Regions from separate parts of the Homo sapiens genome. Here region 1 is linked to region 2. The links are contacts of gene promoters, found by promoter capture Hi-C in human tissues and cell types (Jung and others, 2019). All regions are on one chromosome and are shown on one strand. The core of a region is centred on a gene start or on the middle of the fragment in contact, and the rest is flanking DNA. Distances in the headings are between cores, read along the strand shown. Region 1 overlaps STEAP2-AS1 (STEAP2 antisense RNA 1). Region 2 holds the start of ZNF804B (zinc finger protein 804B).

Region 1 (3,951 bases), core at 865-3,364, 1.2 Mb after region 2:
TTAGCCCTTTGTCAGATGAGTAGATTGCAAAAATGTTCTCCCATTCTGTAGGTTGCCTGTTCATTCTGATTGTAGTTTCTTTTGCTATGCAGAAGCTCTTCAGTTTAATTAGATCTCATTTGTCAATTTTGGCTTTTGTTGCCATTGCTTTTGGTGTTTTAGACATGAAGTCCTTGCCCATGCCTATGTCTTCAATGGTATTGCCTAGGTTTTCTTCTAGGGTTTTTATGGTTTTAGGTCTGACATGTAAGTCTTTAATCCATCTCGAATTAATTTTTGTGTAAGGTGTAAGGAAGGGATCCAGTTTCAGCTTTCTACATATGGCTAGCCAGTTTTCCCAGCACCATTTATTAAATAGGGAATTCTTTCCCCATTGCTTATTTTTGTCAGATTTGTCAAAGATCAGATGGTTGTAGATATGCAGCATTATTTCTGAGGGCTCTGTTCTGTTCCATTGTTCTATATCTCTGTTTTGGTACCAGTACCATGCTGTTTTGGTTACTGTAGCCTTATAGTATAGTTTGAACTCAGGTAGCATACCTCCAGCTTTGTTCTTTTGGCTTAGGATTGACTTGGTGATGTGGGCTCTTTTTTGGTTCCATATGAACTTTAAAGTAGTCTTTTCCAATCCTGTGAAAAAAGTCATTGGTAGCTTGATGGGGATGGCATTGAATCTATAAATTACCTTGGGCAGTATGGCCATTTTCATGATATTGATTCTTCCTACCCATGAGCATGGAATGTTCTTCTATTTGTTTGTATCCTCTTTTATTTCCTTGAGCAGTGGTTTGTAGTTCTCCTTGAAGAGGTCCTTCACATCCCTTGTAAGTTGGATTCCTAGGTATTTTATTCTCTTTGAAGCAATTGTGAATGGGAGTTCACTCATGATTTGGTTCTGTTTGTCTGTTATTGGTGTATAAGAATGCTTGTGATTTTTACACATTGATTTTGTATCCTGAGACTTTGCTGAATTTGCCTATCAGCTTTAGGAGATTTTGGGCTGAGATGATGGGGTTTTAAGAAGAGACTGAATTAGTGAGACTGAAGATAAGGAAGCCAGTGAGCAAGTTCTTGGTGTCACCCAGTAATTAAGTTCTGGGATATTATTGGAAAATGATCCTTCCTTATTTAAATATTCACCAATACATGAAGCAATCTTATGAAAAGAGTTATCATGTAGACAGTACACAACTGTGAAAGAAAAATATCTTGGGCCCTGAAAATCACTAAGCTAAATAGAAAACTCAAGCTGGAAACTGCTCAGGGAAAACCTGCCTCCCATTCTATTCAAAGTCATCCCTCTGCTCACTGAGATAGATGCACATTCTGTTTGCCTCCTTTGGAAAGTCTTATCAGAAACTCAGAAGAATGTAACCATTTGTCTCTTACCCACCTGTGACCTGGAAGGTCTCTCCTTGCTTAGAGTTGTCCCTGCCTTTCTGGATGGAACCAGTTTACTTCTTACATATGTTGATTGATATCTAATGTCTCCCTAAAATGTATAAAACCAAGCTATGCCCTGACCACCTTGGGCACAAGTTGTCAGGACTTCTTGAGACTGTGTCATGGGTGCACGTCCTCAACCTCAGCGAAATAAACTTTCTAAATTAACTGAGACCTGTCTCAAATTTTCAGAGTTCACACAACATATATGAAGACACAAAAGTTAATTAGTATTGCTTCAATGTCTCCAGCCCTTTACTTTCTTGCCTACCAAAGAAAATTCTAGCTTAGCCCATTCTGTCCTTCCCATCATGCTCTATTTGGGGGATTCAGAAGGGTTCTTTGGAAGCTTTTCATTTGAATAAATCAACAGAAGAGTCAGAAGTCTGCAGCTAGGGAAGAGGTTTTCAGGGGATTCTGGAAAATGTAGAAAGCATAAAGTATGGGAATATCAAAGCAAACATTTTACTGGACAATGTTAAACAGGCAACAAAAACTTTATTCAAGACTATTGCAATACAGCCATTTTGGAGAATAGTACAGTGGTTCCTCAAAAAACTAAAAATAGAATTACTATATCATCTAGCAATACCACTGCTGGGTATACACAAAAGGAAATGAACTCTGTTGAAGGGAAGTCTGCACTCCCATGTTCACTGCAGCATTATTCACAATATCCAAGTTGTGGAAACAACCTAATAGTTCACTAATGGATAATCAATTTTTAAAATATGTCATATATACACAACAAAATACTGTTTAGCCTTAAAAGAAAAAAAAAACAGGAAATTCTATCATTTGTGATATGGAAGAAACTTGAGGACATTTAGTTGAAATAAGCCAGGCACAGAAAGACTAATGCCATATGATCTCACTTATATGTGGGATCTAAACAGGTTGGACTCACAGAGGTAAAGTGTAGAATGGTGGCTCCTAGAGGCTGGGAGTTGAGGGGAGGAAGATCGGGAAAGGGGAGATGTTGTTGAATGGGTACAAAGTTACAGTTAGAAGGAATAAGTTCTGGATGTTCTATTTCACAGCAAGGTGACTACAGTTAATATATTGTACATTTTAAAATAGCTTAAAGTGAAGATTTTAGATATTCTCATCACAAATAAACAATAAATATTTGAGGTGATGGATATGCTAATTACTCTGATTTGATCATTCCACAATGTAACATGTGAACAACACTTTTTTTGTTTTGTTTTTGTTTTTGTTATGGAGTTTCACTCTTGTTGCCCAGGCTGGAGTGCAATGGCGCAATCTTGGCTCACTGCAACCTCCGCCTCCTGGGTTCAAACAATTCTGCCTCAGCCTCCCAAGTAGCTGGGATTACAGGGGTGTGCCACCATGCCCAGCTAATTTTTCTATTTTTAGTAGAGATGCAGTTTCACCATGTTGGCCAGGTTGGTCGTGAACTCCTGGCCTCAGGTAATCCACCCATTTCAGCCTCCCACAGTGCTGGGATTACAGGCATGAGCCACCACATCCAGCCTGTAAACAACACTTTGTAGCCCATAAATATATACAATTATTGTTTGTCAATTAAAAATAAAGCTTTACAAAAAGAATATTGCAATAGGAGAAGGAGGCCTGAACTCAGTGTAAATGCAATTCTTCTGAAACAAACACCTGGGAAGTTTTTAAGAGCTGAGACAGAAGGGTCTTAGACCATCTGTGTTTGCTAGTTGGTTTTACCCAAAGAGAGAGTCAACATTCTCATACCTTCATGACAGGAGATAGTTTTACAACTGGAAGCAAGGTGCCCACCAAAGTTAGGTTCCTACTCTCCCACAGAAACTGGGATACAGAAGGTCTAACTTCCTTGACAATTACATATCAAAGAGATGGCTGTAGATCTTTGAGAAAGACAATCCTGGGTGGTAAAACTGGCAGAAGGCTTTTAAAAAAGTTTTGCATCACAAAGGAGCAGTGAAACATTTATAATTACAAGTTTTCTAAAGTGAATGTTTTACCTTAGAAAGGGAGATCAGGGGTCTAGAGGTCGGTCGGAAGCAGCCTATTTAAACGTTTGGGGGAGCTGAAGGAAACACTAAGGCTATCTTGGTCAAATGCAATTGCTTTGAATAAAAAAAGTGAAAAAAAATAATTTAAGAGTTATTACTGGCATAAACAAAAGTAGTGCTATTCATAATGTTTGAGAAATACAAGTGGAAAACTTGAGTTTTTATTGTAAAGGAAAATTTTTAAATCCCAGGGTATCCAAACTCTTTATGTAAAAGGGAAGTTTAAGCTTGAAGGCTGAGTCTCCCTCTTCCAGATGACTAGCTATGACAACATTATGCATCAGCCCAAGTAAAAGGCCTCAGGCATCTATGAAGGGCCACCCCCACAGATCATTTCTAAGTAAATTCTCCCATAAACAAGGACATCCCAATTGTAATTTTAGGTCTACAATCTAAGTCTAGCTCCTAAAACTATAGTCTGTTCAATTCCACACTGAAAACGTCCACTACAAGCTTATCTTCCCAGGTGCAGAAAAAC
Region 2 (4,008 bases), core at 432-2,931:
GAGATTTACATTGCACTATCCCAGTTTCAGTAATTTTTATTCTGAAGGTTTGCAAGGAATTGGCATTTTTCCCTTATATACTCAGAAGCTTTGCAAACACTTTAAAAGACTATATAAAACCTTTAAAATGAGAAGTACATCTATGTATTTTTTAAATAAAATATTAAGGATATTAAGCCATTGTAATGATGTAAACAAAAAGTCAAGCTTTTATTGGGTAGTTACAAAAGTTATAATTAGATTCTTTTTTGTTCCTTTTTTGCTTAAGAATTTTATGAGTTGCCTGAATAGGAAAAATTAAATTAACAGTTTTTTTTTCCTTTTAACCTGTTTCTGCTTTTGTGTCAATGTCAACCGGGATGCGAATGGGGCATTGTGGGAGACAGGAGAGGACAATACTGGGGAGAATTAGCGCATTGGCGGTAGCCTTTCAATTCCAGCGCTGAAGCAACAGACTGAGAGGAGGTGAACCTTTACCTTCTCCCAGGCACAGACAAGGCGAGGTGAGGCAGAGATGGATTGCAGAACCGCATTAAGCAACCGCGGGGTGGAGGAGAGTGCAGGGTGTCTCCAAACCCTGGGAGGGCTATCTTCTCCTTTCAGAGCACATTTCTGCCCAGGTCTTTTTATTCTCAGTGCAGCTCGCTCCCTGGTGGCTTAAATTACGGTAAACGAAATAAGGTCCGTTAAAAACCACTTCTGAGAGGGGTGATTATTGGGGGTTTTGAAAGCACAGAGGTCTTATAGAGACCAAAAATATGTGCCTCGCTAAGATACAGAAAGGCTTGTAAGTGAATCTTCATAACTCTGGGTACGTGCATGTATATGCACATATACGTATGCATGTCTCGTTTCTATACCTTATATAAGTTTTCTGCCCAAAACTTTCCTCGTCCGTGCGTTCCCTACCACGGCGCATCTAATCTGTCTGCCCTATTTGTGGCTGCACAGCTCATTCTTGCAACCGGCTGGGGAGCTGTTGCTTCTGCCAACGCCGCCGTCAGCCAGAGCGCTGAAGAAAAGCTGAAGGCCAGCAGGCAACGAAAGAGTAAAGAAAACGCCCTCCTCCTGCCCATCTCCTCCACCACAGCCTCCCCAGTCCTCCCAGGTGACTCCCAAACAGTAGAAAGTTGGCTCAGAGATAGGGCAGAAGAACCGGGGGGCTGGGCGGCTGAGGCCGGGAGGTGGGAGAGGCGGGTCCTGCAGCCCCGAGAGCCCCCCGCGGCTGCAGCGGCAGCTGTCACCTCCTGGCCTCGCCCCACAGCACACCTGAGCCTCCTGGGCAGCCCCGAGCCCACAGCTCCCAGCAGAGGCGCTAACTGCCCTCCTCAAGCACAGGTCGCCGCGTCCCCAACTCCCTGTCCTCACCCCGGCCCGCCCGTCTCCTCCTCCGCCCTCTCCCGACTGCAGCGGGGGCAGCGCTTTGGCGCTCCCAAGGACTCCCCGCCACTCTCCCCACAAAGCAGCGGCGGTGGCGGCGGCTGCTGCTGGATCTTCACACTGCAGCCAGCAGCCCAGGACGCCCCCGGCCGGACGATGGGTACCCGCGCCTGAGCATCCCCCGGGCAGGCGCCAGGCGCGAAGGCAGGGGGCGGGAGGAAAGGGGCGGGGGAATTCCTGATTCCCTGGTGGACCCTGGAAGTTGTCCTTAAATAAATATATCGCTGGCCCGCGGTTGAGCAGCCACCTCGTCAGAGCAGCATGTGGACTGGCTCGCCGGGTCCCCTCCGTGCTCTGTGCTGTCGCCGCCGCCGCCTCTGTCAGAGCAGCAGCTGTCGGCAGCAGGAGCCCCGCACGGGGCGCGGAGCAGGGACGCGCTGCCACCGCCTCCCCCTGCGTCCTGCTGGCCGCGTCTTCTCGGGAGGTGGTAGTCGCTGTTGCCGCTGAGAAACCCGCCCGCTTTCCACGGCTGGTCGCCTGGTGAGGAGTTGAGACTCTGCGCCTCCGCCCGGACCCACATGGCTTGTTACCTGGTCATCAGTTCGAGACATCTCAGCAATGGGCACTACCGGGGCATTAAAGGAGTCTTCAGGGGACCCCTGTGCAAGAACGGATCTCCCTCTCCGGTAATGTGCGCGCGCACACACATACATACACAAACGTTCCAACTCAACACAAACAAAAAGATATTGAGAGATAGTATCCTGATACAATGAGTAGGTGGTGGACATCTAAAACGTATACCTTATCCATAGGTATGGAGATACATCGTGTCCGTTTATACAATTTATTGACAGACTGTGACACAGAGAGGGGTGTGTATTTACATGTGTATTTTCAATTCAGTCAGTAGGATCTATAGTGCTACGGATGTAAATACTTACTGAATGCAGTCAACTGCAGGGCTCAGAAGGTAGCTCCTCTGTGCTATGTCAACTTACGAATCTGCTGATTTGAGCAGTGTAGAAAGTTTGAGTGGCACGTTATAATGTGCTTTTGTAAAGTCATCAGTTGAGATTAGTTTAATAATGCTACTGTTACTTTGTGAGAAAAACTCAAAGATTTTCCCTCAAATCATTGGCAAAAGGAAAGTTATAGGTAGTGAAAACTTGATTATATCTAATGCTCAACTATGCACATTCTTTAAGGGGAAGTAAGAGAATTCTTTATGGAAATCTGAGTTGGATAATTTATTGTATAATATACAAATATATTAACATGCAATTAACGTGATTGCTTTTTAACTTAGTAAACTATTCAATTTAGTTACTATTCAGTTTATTCACATTCTTTTTATAAAATAATTTCATCCAGATTATATGAGTTAAATACATTATTAATTCATTTCTTGGTACATGCTATTATGTTTTAAGGCTCCAAATATGTTTCAAGAAAATGTGTGTGAATGTGTATGTGTGTGTAATTTATATATATATATAATAAATATATATATAATAAATATATATATAATAAATATATATATATATTAGTTTTGGACTACTAGTGACTAAGTATCCAAACTTAAAGACCAACTTTTGAGGTTTCATATAAAAAACAGTATTTAAGTCTGTATGATATCAAGAGGGAAAACTGAAATTGCCCAACTTTAATTTTTTTATGTTTGATATTTTCCATCATGGTTTAATGCTTCTTTAGCATGAATTATTCAAAACTGCAACATATTATAAAAGCCTTTGATTATTAATAAATGCTATATGTAATTTACATGAGAAATCTAAGATCAGAAAGTACAGGTGCCCAGAGATATCACTAGGATTCCTCATGACAAACTATTCCTTCACATGCTTTTATGTACTATAAAAAGTGGGTTGTTGCAACTGCTCCCCCCAACAACTGTATACAGTACTGAGTCAGAACTGTTAGATGGAAAATACTGTTTGTATAAGTACTTAACAATTAAACTCACAGGGTTAGCAGGCACTTGCAGAGTTCTAGTTTAATAAAGCCCACATTCAGTCCCTCTAAGTAGCAGGTCTGAATCTTTCCCATTTCTAAAGATTCTCAGAATTGGAGTTCCTGCAGTCTCAGCAAACCACTTTAATGTTTAACAACTCACAGTGCCAGGAGAATCTTTCTTACAGCCAACTTAAATCCTTTAAATTCTTCTTTAAGTCTATTTCATCTAGAAAACATACAATGTTCTGCCTTTCTCACAGGTATTATTTTTCAACGCTTTGGTAATCTCCGTGCCTGTCTCCCTTGCCCTCCTTTTGGTTATGGAAAACTAAATTGGGTAGGGCATTGTACTGTTTGTGCCTTAAGACTTCTCAGTATAAAGGGAGAATTGCTTCATAATCTTACACGGTTTAGTTCTATTCAAGTTGGTTAGACTATGGTGTTCATCTTCCCAAATCTGTAGGGCTTGCAGAAGAATTTCTGTTACATGGTCAAAAAGTGTCCTTTCTCTCCCACTTTGGTCAGTCATCTCCCAAGAGCCTGACTGACACTATAGAGACTGGATGTGTGAATGTGGATGGGAGAAGACAGCCCATTGACCACATGGCTGTGCTGGTTGACCAGGGTTCACCAGGTACTCCCCACCCTCAG

What was found. The method cuts DNA at HindIII sites, captures the fragments that hold promoters and counts their contacts. A contact is called where the count stands out against the background at its distance.
Region 1: a contact is called between a fragment that was not itself captured here and the fragment with the promoter of ZNF804B in region 2, in 1 of the 25 tissues and cell types used here (stomach).

What each region holds. Positions count from the first base shown.
Region 1 is chr7:89,984,523-89,988,473 of GRCh38, forward strand. The region is part of intron 2 of STEAP2-AS1 (STEAP2 antisense RNA 1); the gene reads right to left. Among named protein-coding and RNA genes, the nearest start is that of STEAP1, 170 kb to the right of the region's middle. The HindIII fragment of the contact is 3,398 bases long and covers 416-3,813 here.
Region 2 is chr7:88,758,019-88,762,026 of GRCh38, forward strand. ZNF804B (zinc finger protein 804B) reads left to right here and starts at 1,682. Exons shown (of 4, transcript NM_181646.5): 1 at 1,682-2,066. The coding sequence starts at 1,959. RefSeq lists an enhancer at 1,828-2,372. The HindIII fragment of the contact is 17,200 bases long and covers 1-4,008 here.